Linked DNA regions of Homo sapiens: regions 1, 3 and 4 are each linked to region 2. Evidence: promoter capture Hi-C in 16 types of primary human blood cells and fetal thymus (Javierre and others, 2016). All regions are on one chromosome and are shown on one strand. The core of a region is centred on a gene start or on the middle of the fragment in contact, and the rest is flanking DNA. Distances in the headings are between cores, read along the strand shown.

The links. Contacts are between HindIII fragments. The CHiCAGO score rates a contact against its expected background, and 5 or more counts as called.
Region 1: a contact is called between the fragment with the promoter of BARD1 here and the fragment with the promoter of RPE in region 2, in 5 of 17 cell types (total CD8 T cells, non-activated CD4 T cells, naive CD4 T cells and 2 more). The highest score is 14.0, in total CD8 T cells.
Region 3: a contact is called between a fragment that was not itself captured here and the fragment with the promoter of RPE in region 2, in 1 of 17 cell types (M0 macrophages). The highest score is 8.4, in M0 macrophages.
Region 4: a fragment that was not itself captured here is called in contact with the fragment with the promoter of RPE in region 2 in 1 of 17 cell types (monocytes); the score reaches 8.7 in monocytes.

What each region holds. Positions count from the first base shown.
Region 1 is chr2:214,808,044-214,811,043 of GRCh38, reverse strand. It overlaps BARD1 (BRCA1 associated RING domain 1), which reads left to right and starts at 1,361. Exons shown (of 11, transcript NM_000465.4): 1 at 1,361-1,632. The coding sequence starts at 1,475. It overlaps SNHG31 (small nucleolar RNA host gene 31), which reads right to left and starts at 815. Exons shown (of 4, transcript NR_110292.1): 1 at 612-815. RefSeq lists a silencer at 883-1,452 and enhancers at 2,003-2,082, 2,373-2,422. The HindIII fragment of the contact is 4,673 bases long and covers 634-3,000 here.
Region 2 is chr2:210,001,224-210,003,941 of GRCh38, reverse strand. RPE (ribulose-5-phosphate-3-epimerase) reads right to left here and starts at 1,304. Exons shown (of 6, transcript NM_199229.3): 1 at 1,159-1,304. The coding sequence starts at 1,280. RefSeq lists enhancers at 1,036-1,205, 1,246-1,295. The HindIII fragment of the contact is 5,690 bases long and covers 1-2,718 here.
Region 3 is chr2:205,688,758-205,691,708 of GRCh38, reverse strand. All of the region lies in intron 1 of NRP2 (neuropilin 2), which reads right to left. Among named protein-coding and RNA genes, the nearest start is that of NRP2, 7.7 kb to the right of the region's middle. The HindIII fragment of the contact is 3,135 bases long and covers 127-2,951 here.
Region 4 is chr2:206,767,529-206,770,228 of GRCh38, reverse strand. FASTKD2 (FAST kinase domains 2) reads right to left here. Exons shown (of 12, transcript NM_001136193.2): 3 at 35-138. Among named protein-coding and RNA genes, the nearest start is that of FASTKD2, 3.3 kb to the right of the region's middle. RefSeq lists an enhancer at 1-530. The HindIII fragment of the contact is 2,931 bases long and covers 1-2,700 here.

The sequences.
Region 1 (3,000 bases), core at 112-2,611, 4.8 Mb before region 2:
TGTGGGGTTGGGACCATGATGGCCAGAGGAGGTTTTGACAAGAGGCTAGTCAAAGAGCAGAGAAAAACTTTAAGGAGTTTTAAGAAAGGGAAGTGCCACGATGAGTTTTGTGTTTGGAAATGTTTTAGGCGGCCACACCGCAGTCTCGGGACTGGCTGGGACCTGGATAGACACTTGGATATCAGCTAGAAAGCTACGACAGGAAACCAGGCGAGGACGAGGCAACTGGGGATGTTGTGGAGCAGAGACGGAGAGAAAATGGGTGCATTCGAGACAAGTTAGGGGGAAAAAATGCAAGGACTTGGAAATGAACTTGGGGCGCGGCAGGAAGGCATGACGGGTTGCTCTGTAGGTCTTATCTGTAAATTACGGCGATCAGTGAAAGATCTGGAGGAGGAAGGTGGACACACTCTCTAACAAAAAAAACCCTTTTTGAAATTTTATACCAATATTTTAAAAGTAAACCAGATCTTTTCAGACATGCCTTTGAGCTGATATTTGTTAACTAGTTAGAATTAGAAACTTTCCTTATTTTTACTCAGTTACAATATACGCCACAGCTGAGGTGAGAGGAAAGAAAAGGTTGCTTTCTTAGGAACAAAGAGTGGTACCTTCAGTATCGTGGGCAAAGCTTTTCCAAGTCCAACAGCAGTCAAAACAGCGCTTTTTATAAATAACACTCAGCTAAAAGTTTCTGGGTTTGTGATTGTTCCAACGGTTAAGCTCGGATGAGGGTCCCTGGAGTCGTAGCTCCCGGGAAACGTCGACTGGCTTTCCACCTGGACTTCATCCGTCCAGGCAGCCCAGAGGGGCTTCAGGCCCCGCCCGCTCTCCTGCCAACTACAGCCTCGCGACTGCGCTCAGCCTTCAGGCCCCGCCCCTTCGGTCAAGCGGCGTGCTCTCACTGCACGGCGCCTGGGCCCCGCGCGCCGGGACCTCGGTTTCAGCCGTCCTGTCCTGCCCCGAGGCCCCTAGGCCCCGCCCCTGGGCCCCGCGCGCCAGGACTTCGGTTTCGACCGTCCTGTCCCGCCCCGAGGCTCCTAGGCCCCGCCCCCTCTGTCCCCGGCGTGTTCTCGCGGCTCCGCCCCTAGGACCCGCGCGCCGGGACTTTGGCAAGTTTCAGCCGTCCGGCCCCGCCCCCTCGGTCCCACGGCTCTCGCGGCCCCTCCCCTAAGTCCCACACGCCGGGACTTTGGCAAGTTTCAGCCTCCAGCCCCACCCCTAGGTCCCGCCCACTCGGCCAGCGGCTGGCTCTCGCGGCCCCGCCCCTGTGCCCTGCGAGTCCCTATTTTGGGAGCATTGCGGCCGCCGTGCCCCGCCCCTCCCCGCGCGCCCCGCCCCTCTGGCGGCCCGCCGTCCCAGACGCGGGAAGAGCTTGGCCGGTTTCGAGTCGCTGGCCTGCAGCTTCCCTGTGGTTTCCCGAGGCTTCCTTGCTTCCCGCTCTGCGAGGAGCCTTTCATCCGAAGGCGGGACGATGCCGGATAATCGGCAGCCGAGGAACCGGCAGCCGAGGATCCGCTCCGGGAACGAGCCTCGTTCCGCGCCCGCCATGGAACCGGATGGTCGCGGTGCCTGGGCCCACAGTCGCGCCGCGCTCGACCGCCTGGAGAAGCTGCTGCGCTGCTCGCGTTGGTAAAGACGGAGCTTCTTGGGGGTGGCTGCGAGGGCACGGGTCGCACAGTTTCTGGGGGCGGCAGAATCTTTTCAAATCTTCCGTTTCCTCCTTCCGTTCCCGCGCTGCAGTCGGGTCGGCGTGCGGTTAGCACCTGCCGGGGGATATAGTATTAACAACTTCTGCTTCTCATTCACTTTATTTTTGGGCGACTTACCGGCCTCCCCTTGCCCTGAATCCAACTGAAACGGTAGTTTTTGAACTTCAGCGGGCTGAAGAACCGTCTGGAGGTGTGGCTAAAAAAATGTTCATCCCGGTCGCGCCTCCAGAGTTTGAATCGGGCTGGGGTGGGGCTGAGGCTTCTGCATTTTTTACCCGGCCCTGGATTACCCCGCTGCTTTCCGGGAGCTGTGGCGAATTGGGCTGGCGGGCCGCCCCGGAGACCCTCTAAATTAGAAGCAGCTGCCACTCTAAGTTAAACTGGCCTTTTTGACATTTTCTCCGTGCCAGCTTTTTCGAGTGAGATGGGATGGAGCATCGGATATCTACCATAGTTGTAGATTGAAGATGGCACGGAATTTCTCATTTTCTTAGTTTGCTCAAAAGACTGTATGTCTGGTGTCCCCGCTCTTAGTGATGCTGTTTATTGTTTTCCTTCATGCTGTCACATTATGGGAGTCCTCTCAGGGTTTTCATTCCGTCCAAAGACATTTTCATGAGTGTTACTTCTTGCTTTTTTTCGTGTAGCTCTTTCTAGTATACAAACCAAGAAGGTTTGTAAAACCCAAGAAAGGTTTGTCTCATTTTCATTTCTTCTGAAAAGCATTTTTATTGAGCACTTGCTGTGTGTACAGCTAAGTATTTCTGTATGAAGATCACTGGCAGTTTTTTTGTTATTTGTAGCTGTCAAAAGTTTATATCCTTTTTGGACTTTTTTCCCCTTTGATTTCTAACTTGCAGAACTTAAGTTACCTAGTTGCATAAAGTATAAGTAACACAACTTTTTCTTTTCTTTCCTTTTTTGAGACGGAGTCTCGCTCTGTCGCCCAGGCTGGAGTGCAGTGGCACGATCTTGTCTCACTGCAAGCTCCGCCTCCCGGGTTCACGCCATTCTCCTGCTTCAGCCTCCCAAGTAGCTGGGACTGCAGGCGCCCGCCATCATGCCCGGCTAATTTTTTGTATTTTTAGTACAGATGGGGTTTCACCGTGTTAGCCAGGATGGTCTCCGTCTCCTGACCTCGTGATCCGCCCGCCTCTGCCTCCCAAAGTGCTGGGATTACAGGCGTGAGCCACGGTGCCCGGCCAAACTTTTTCTTTAAAAATGAAAAGGACTTAACTGTCAGAGTTTTGCACTTATATTTTCTTTGACGAAAACTTTTAATATCTGT
Region 2 (2,718 bases), core at 55-2,554:
TATGGTCAAAGTTTTGTCATTATCAGTTGGGTGGACTCCTAAGGTAACTGGGTAAAATGCCAAAGAGAAACAATACATTTAACCACATAGAGCAATGGAAGATAAAACTCTTCAAAGCCAGATTAACATTAAAAAGAAAAGGAAATCATCACCTTTAGAAAATAACACCAATTTGCAAACTGAATGAGGGAACACAGGGTTTTTACCTATTTAAAATAAATTTATTTTTCCATCCCCACTCAAGATAATGGTATTTATGATTTTTATAGTCAGTTAACAGTGGGGCTCAGAGAACTACTTGGCAAACCTAGGAAGAGCCAAGTTGCAAGTCTGTCACAATCTTCTGTAATCTTGAGGGAGTCTTACTGCTTTCTCTGGGGTTGTTTCCTCATTCTGTAACCAACTTCAGAAACTAATATCCTGACTCCAAACAATATTATGTGCTGTAACTACGGTGCTTAAAAATTACTTACAAAAAACTGACCTCCCTGAAGAGCAGGGTGCCTGAAGAGAAAATAGACAGGAAAATCAGAATTGTAATAATGATGTAATTAACAATTATAGAGAACTTAATATACGCCAGGCACTGTAAACTTCTCATGTACTCGCTCATTTCATCTTCCAAGATGCCTAAGCGGTAGGTTCTGTTAGTAGTTCCATTTTTCAAATTATGAAACTGAAGCTCAATGAGGTTAGTGGCTTGTCCAAGGTAACCCAGCAAGTGGCAGAACTCGGGAACCTAACCGCAGGTGCCAACTTAAATCGTTAGAGAAGTCTGTTTCCCCAGCTTTGCCACTAACTAGCTATATGAGCTTGGGCAAGTCATGCTTCTCCCCTTGGGCCTCAGTTTCTCTAGCTGAAAGTGAAGAAATGTCCTAAAGATTTAGGTCGCTTCCGGGTCCTAAGTGATGGAAGACCACACGTTACGTGGGGGGAGGGGAGGAACTGAGGTTTGGGACCCGGCCGCAACCCAGGATACCGCGTCGGTTCTGCTCCTGCTAGAGCCTCCAGGGCTCCTACCCCACACCCCTTCTAGCATCGCGTTCAGAGTGAGGCGCTCGGTGGTACAGGGACGCGGTACATCCAACAAGCAGTCAATAAAGGTGCACTGATCCGCCCCGCCGCGCGGCAAGCCCGACCGGAGCCCGGAGGAGTTACCCGTCCATTACGTCCAGGTGCAGATAATCGGCCCCAGAGTCTAGCATCCGGAGGCACTCGGCCCCTAAATTGGCCAGGTCGCTGTTGAGGATGGACGGGCCAATCTTGCAGCCCGACGCCATACCGCTGGCTCCCAAAAGCAAGTTACCCACGAGTCCCCGGCAAGGCTAGAGCGTCACCCCGATTGGGCGCGCAGTTTTGGCCCCGCCCCTTCTCCGTACAGGCTTCCGGATTCTACCGGAAGCAGCCACTCTGCGGTGAGGAAGTCCCGCCTCCTCCTGGGGTGGGGCGCTGTCAGCCGTCCGCCTGGGGCGGGGCGGGGCACACGGGCCTCGTACACCTGATTTTGACCTTCCTTCTTGTGCTGTTTGGATCTTAACGTCCTCGCAGTACTCAAGGCGTTTCTTAACCTTTTTTCACTTTGCTTCTCCTGCAGTTCCCTCTCCTCGGCTCTTGACTTAACATCACTTTTTGTTTCTCCACCCTTTGCATATGCCTTTCTTTCCTCTCCAGCGCCTATGCTGGCCCTTTAAAACAACAATTAAAAACCTTTCTTCCTCGTATTTCTCCTAGAGCTCTTCTTTTGAGCTGGAGGAACCCTGGCTCTGCCAGATACTAGCTGGGTGACCTGGCAAATCACTTCTTAACTTCGGTTTTCTCATCTGTAAAGACAGTGCCCAGCTTTAGGGTTGTATTAAATGAGTGAAGCCAGGTAATGCGCCCAGCAGGATGCCTGGTGCTCAGTACAAAATGGTAGTTATTATTATATTACCCTCTTTTTCTGCCTTTGCAGTTCCTCCTTACCTTTTTTGTTTTTCCCTCTGTTGAGGCTCAGAAAATGATAGCCCAAAGTGAAGGCCTCAGACGCAACAGTGTTTCTCTGACTTCCTGCCCTGCTCTCTTCTCAGTCTCATTCTAGGAGGCAGGTCATAGAAACTGGAGCCCATCTTCCCTAAGAAGAGTCATTGAAACCGGAACCCCCTTTCCCTGAAGCCAGACACAAAACCCAAAAGCATTACTCTAACTTTCCTCCACCTTTCTGTGTAAAAACTGGCCATAAATTATTTGACCCATCTCAACTGTAGGTTATAAAACTCCTCTTCTAGAGAAGGTTCTATCCCATATCCAGGAGGAGGGAATGCTGCACAGAGAGGCCAGGAATCTAAACTAGACTGGCCAAGGCCAGGTCAGTCTATTAGCATTAGATCGCCTATTTTGTCCAATCGTATTTCTACATGGCTGTCTATACTTTGTTGAACCTAAGTATAAAAATGGGTAATCACCCCTGTACCTTTGGGTCTTCATTCTGAAGGCTCCTGTGTCAGGTAAAACTATAATCAAATAAGTTTTTATGCCTTTTCTCCTGTTAATCTTCTTTCTGTCAGTGATTTTCAGCAAACCTTTGGAGGGTGAAGGGAAAGTTTTCCCTTGGCCCCTACACCTCTCCAATGCTCATTCACAAATTGTGATAGGTTTGTGTGCTGTTCACACACAGTTCAGAAATGGATGAGTATCCTGATGCTAAATGTGCCTAGGGTCAGGAAAAGAGACAGAAGTAAA
Region 3 (2,951 bases), core at 445-2,944, 4.3 Mb after region 2:
TTCCTGACCATTTTAGGAGACATTTGGGGAAGGAAACAGAAGAATAATTTTGAGGTCTCTCCAAAAACCAAAGGAGAAAAAAAAGTAATATAATATTGTCTTCATTTATTTTGATTAACTGAAGCTTATGTTGAAACATTAATGGCTCCCCATTGGTTAGCAAGTGAAACCCAAACCTCTTTGCCTAGCAATTTGGGCCTTGAATTGAGCCCAAGCTATTATTTATAATCTTGTTTGCAATTATTTCCCACCATACATTCTAAACTGCAGCTTCTGAGTGTTCCCCAAACCAACCCAGCATCCATTTCTCTACTCACACCTTCCCCTTCCCCTGGTATGCCCTTCCCTGCTCTAAATCCCACCTACTCTCTCACTCCAGGCTGCCTCTGCCCTTTCTCCTCTCCCATACTGGGAGTGGTCTTTCTCCTCTGTGCATCTGAGAGGCTGAAGCTCTTTAGCATCTTCTGAGATGTGTGAGAGTTCTGGAGGGCCTCATCCAGTCTACTGAGCCACCAGCAACTTGAGGTCATGACTCCTTGCTGATCCATCTTTGGCAAGTCTTACAGGATCAAACCAGAACCTTTCCCAAAAGTCAGACTCATCAAGATTTGGTGAATTAACCAATTAAGAAGTGACCAAAGGAACATCAAAGGTATCACTAGATAGGACAGACTCTGAGAGTTCTATCAGAAATTATTCTGCGGCCACAGCTACTGCGCTTCCCTCCCCACCCCCAGCTGTTATTAAGTGCAAATGTTTCTTAGTGGTGAATTGAGAGTTTGAATAACTTGTCTGGGATAATAATACCTAGTCACAAGTAGGTCAAGGTAGAGTTAGTGCGAACTATGTCTCCTAGAACACCCTAAAGCAGATAATAATGATAAATTTCAAAGCACATTCACATTTTATTTTATTTTATTTTATTTTTTGAGACAGAGTCTCACTCTGTCACCCAGGCTAGAGTGCAGTGGCACAATCTCGGCCCACTGCAACCTCCGCCTCCCAAGTTTAAGCGATTTTCCTGCCTTAGCCTCCCAAGTAGCTGGGATTATAGGCGCCCACCACCATACCCAGCTATTGTGTGTGTGTGTGTGTGTGTGTGTGTGTGTGTGTGTGTGTGTGTGTGTGTATTTTTAGCAGGGATGGGGTCTTGCTATGTTGGCCAGGCTGGTCTCGAACTCCTGACCTCAGGTGATCTGCCCACCTCCTCCTCCCAAAGTGCTGGGATTACAGGCATGAGCCACCATGCTCGGCCATTTTATTTTTAATACTAGTAAAATTAATTTATCTCAGGGGTTTTGTCCCCTTCACTCCAACCCCCACACTTCCAAAGGCAACTTTAAATATTGGTTATCTGTACCACCAGGAAGATGCTGACTATTACTTCATCACTAAGCCATTTGTTGGTATTGGATTTTCTTGTGCTTGGTTTCAGCAAACCTCTCTTTACTCAACCCCCTCCTCATTTTCCTTTCTGTAGCCCCTAGAATGCCTTTGGGGAACATCTGTTTTATTTTTTCTCCTGTATCCAAACAATTATTATTAGCATTCGGTCTAGTAATTTGCAATTCCCATTATCTTCTCTGCTGAAAGACTCGCCAGAACTGGTTACTGGTTATCGCAGGATTTGTGGAGGCGGGAGCAGGGTACCACGGCCACGTGCACTCAGCTGGCCGGCAGCCTCGTGCACTCTGTGCTACCGAGAGCTTCTCTTTTGTTATTCCCAGCCCCTCCTTTTTTTCTGGATTAGATAATGACTCCTTTATGAAGACCCAGAGGGAAATGGGATTATTAAGACCCTTGCTGGGTAAAAGCTATTTTGTCTTTATGATGACTTTTTTGAGTTCAGCTGCTGAAGGGCCTTAGTGCCAGAGTAGAAGTTATTACACATTCGGGAGAGCGCCTTAAACACGGTGTTCCCTGCTGAGCACACTCTCAGTGTTGAAGGATGGAAGGGGAGGAAAAGGAAAGGAAATGAGAGATTAAAAAGAAAATAGGAGGTAAGAATACTGAAAACAGAGGAAGAAGGAGGGAAAAAATGCAAGGGAGACATAAATCTAAGATAAGAACTCAGCAGAGAATATTCTCTGAAGAAGAGCATGGCGAGAGATAATATGGTGCTTACAAAACACAGAGGTTTGGTGGTGGAAGAACTGAGAATAAGAATTATTTTTTAAATCTCATAAAAATCAACTTACCACAATGGTTATAGTGTGCTTTCTACGATCACGAGATTCCACTAACCCCACTGAAACAGTTTTAAAGATTCAGTGACTTCAGAATGGGCTTCATATGTGCCAAACAGTATTCTACATAATCTGACATAGCCCAACAACCCTATGAAGTAGGTATTGTTACCAAACACATTTACAGACAAGGAAACCGAGGCACATAGACTAAGTATCTGATCACACAGGATACTGGGATCACAGAGCCAGCAAGTGGCTGAGCTAGATTCTAAACCCAGGCAGTCTAGTTCCCATGTTTCAGAAGCTGGGAAGGCCAGGGATGATCCCCACAAAACTTCTCAGTGGCAAACCTACTTGGTAGCATTTAGGGAAAGACAAATATTTTGCCTGTTTGAAAACCCCCTTTTCTCTGCCTGTGCCAGTACTCTGTCTGTGTGAACAATGAGAGATGTGTTTGAGGCTGGGGTGTGAGTGGGCTGGAAGCACTTAACACCTTCTCCACTCCCTGTACACACAGGCACTCAGCTCCTTGTCATCCTGGCCCTCTTTCCTGTGTTCTGGAAACCCTAGGCATGGGGCCGGGGAGGGCGGGTGATGGATAGGAAGTTCAGGTCTGAAACCATGTATCACAACATCGAAGGGTTTTTTTGTTTTTTTTGTTTTGTTTTGTTTTTTTGTTTTTTGCCAACTCCTATTTCTCTCCTTTCTTCTCAATCCTACTCTTCTCTATCCTAAATGCCACATTGTTATTGTTCTACTGGA
Region 4 (2,700 bases), core at 100-2,599, 3.2 Mb after region 2:
AAACCACATGAAGAAAGCATAAGAGAGTTCTCACCTGAATCCCGTTCGTAGAACATGAACATTCTTGCATGGTTCCATTGCCTCTAAAACAGTTGACAAAACTGAAAGGCATATCTCATCACACTCATTGATACGTTCCTATTGAAATATAATTACAAAAACACTACAGGTGATGAGCCCATAGTAAACTATCTTACCCAAGCAAAACCACTGAACTGATGTACTGAATAAAACGATTGAGTATCAAACCAACAATTCCTACAGTCAGTCCACAATAAACAGCATCTTTGGGAAATAAAAAGTCATACTTACTGAATTTTCCAGCTGACTGATACACATCCTTTTATGCATCAACACTTTTTTACCTTCACCATTATCACTGAAAACACATTTGATATTTATTATATTCCACTGCTTCTGAAACAACTTTTATTAAACATTATTTTTACCTCTTCTTGGAATTCAAGGTCATTACAAAGGCAAAAACAGTTAAAGTGCAGGAATATAAGAACTACTGAAGTACAGAAGGTAACTAGCCCATCTCTAAAGATCCTTAAATGGTTGTGCCTTTACAATTTCCCTAGATCCTTTCCTGGGTATCAAGCTGAAACTTTACTTGTGAGTCTTCTGATTCACATCTCCTGCCACATTCTACCACTGCTATCTGGGTCTCAAGGGAAGCCTACACCCCACAGATTCTTCTTTCAGGTCCCTTTACTTAGGGTACTAAGTTTGATTCCAGAAATAGTGGGCATAATCTGGAAAGTGAATAGTAACAACACAGCTTAACTAGCAGTACTCTACAGTTTAATCACTAGTCTATAAACCTCACAAAAAATCACATCTGAGGAAACTTAGCCTGAAGAGAGAGAAGCTCTTTTGCTAAAATTACATAACCAATGAATCACAAAGTCTTAAGTCAGAACCAGGTAATAATAAGAAATGGTTATGGTTAGAAGAAAAAAAAGGTTTCTTTCCTATGAAAGGGTTTCCTTAACAATTTTACAGCATTCCATCCATATCTACTATGAAAGAAAAGACCACTTGTCTATGTGTTTGAAGGGCAAATTCATTGATGGCACACTGTCCTTTCACCTCTAAAATGTCTTTACATTATTCCAACAGGTCAGTGAGACACCATCATCCATACAGATGTTTTGACTACAAAAATCTACTACTCATACCTCACCAACACAGATGTCATCCCGATGCAAATATCTGTCCAAAATCTAGTAAGAGCATCACTGACCAGGTAAGGTGATTTATTAGTCACTTTTAAATAACTACATAGGAACTAATACACAGCCTACAAATAAACAGGGATATTCTGTGGTTTAAACAAATACACACACATACACTAAATAAAAATTAGTTATTCCTTAAGGACATATGGAAATCACAGTAATGTAAAAAGTTAAAAACTTTCCCATAGCTATGAACCCAATTATTGAATTCTATAGCAAGACAGGATATATGCCAGATTATCCCCAAGGAATTCCTGTCTTTTAAAAAATTATTATTATTATTTTCAGACAGGGTCTGGCTCTGTCACCCAGGCTGGAGTGCAGTGGCACGATCATGGCTCACGGCAGCTTCGACCTCCCAGGCTCAAGTGATATTCCCACCTCAGCCTCCCAAGTAGCTGGGACCACAGGCAAGTACATCACACCCAGCTAATTTTTGTATTTTTTGTAGAGATGGAGTCTCCCTTTGTTGCCCAGGCTGGTCGCAAACTCCTGGGCTCAAGAGATCCTCCTGCCTTGGCCTCCCAAAGTGCTGGGATTACAGGTGTGAGCCACCACACCTGGCTAAGAAATTACTTCATTATCACTGAGTTTATACGTCAGAAGTGTACACTCTTAAAACATAAATGATTAACAAGCTAATCCTTCCTTCCTTACATTTGGCACCATTTCAGTGACATTAAACAGGACACTGACATTCTTGCTTTAGACTAAAAATGGCTCCCTCCATCCAATTTTAACCTTCTTCCAATACATCTTCCACTCATTCAGTGATCTAAAATACAAATTTGAGCACGTCAACCCATTGCTTAAAATTCTTCAACGGATTCCCATTGCCTACAGGATAAATGCATACTCCTTAGCTAGCCGTAAGAGGCTCTTTATGATTTGGTTCCTATTTTTCTGGCCTCTTGTTCTGCCCCTAAGCCTCTTGCCCCTCACTCCTCTCCTTTGATCGCCATGTACAAAACTTGTTCCCACCCACTCAAACATACAACTCCATCATTCTGTGCTTCAGCTACACCAAACTACTTTCAGCTCTTCAAATTTGCCAAACTTTTCCTCTGGGAACAGTAGGGCATGCAATCCTCTCTACTTGAAACACCATCCCCTTCACTATCATTCTGCTCATCAGTTTAGGTATCATCTACTGGGCCTGAATTCCAATTCTACCATGGACTAAATTCTCTTCCTTCCCCTTCCCTTCTCTCCTTCTTCAACTACCCAGGCTTTCTTTGTATATCTTGCATCTCTCCTCACTTTAGCTTCTTCACCACTACTCAACCCTGGGGATGGTAAATGTGGAAGGCTTTCATAAATTTCCATAGCAAAAGGAAGAAAATAGCTAACTTAAGGCCTCTAAATCATATAATATATATGCAGAAATAAATATAAAGGAAACTACCATTCCATTTGATAGTCTCTTTTAAGAAGGCTACATATCTATATCCCTTCA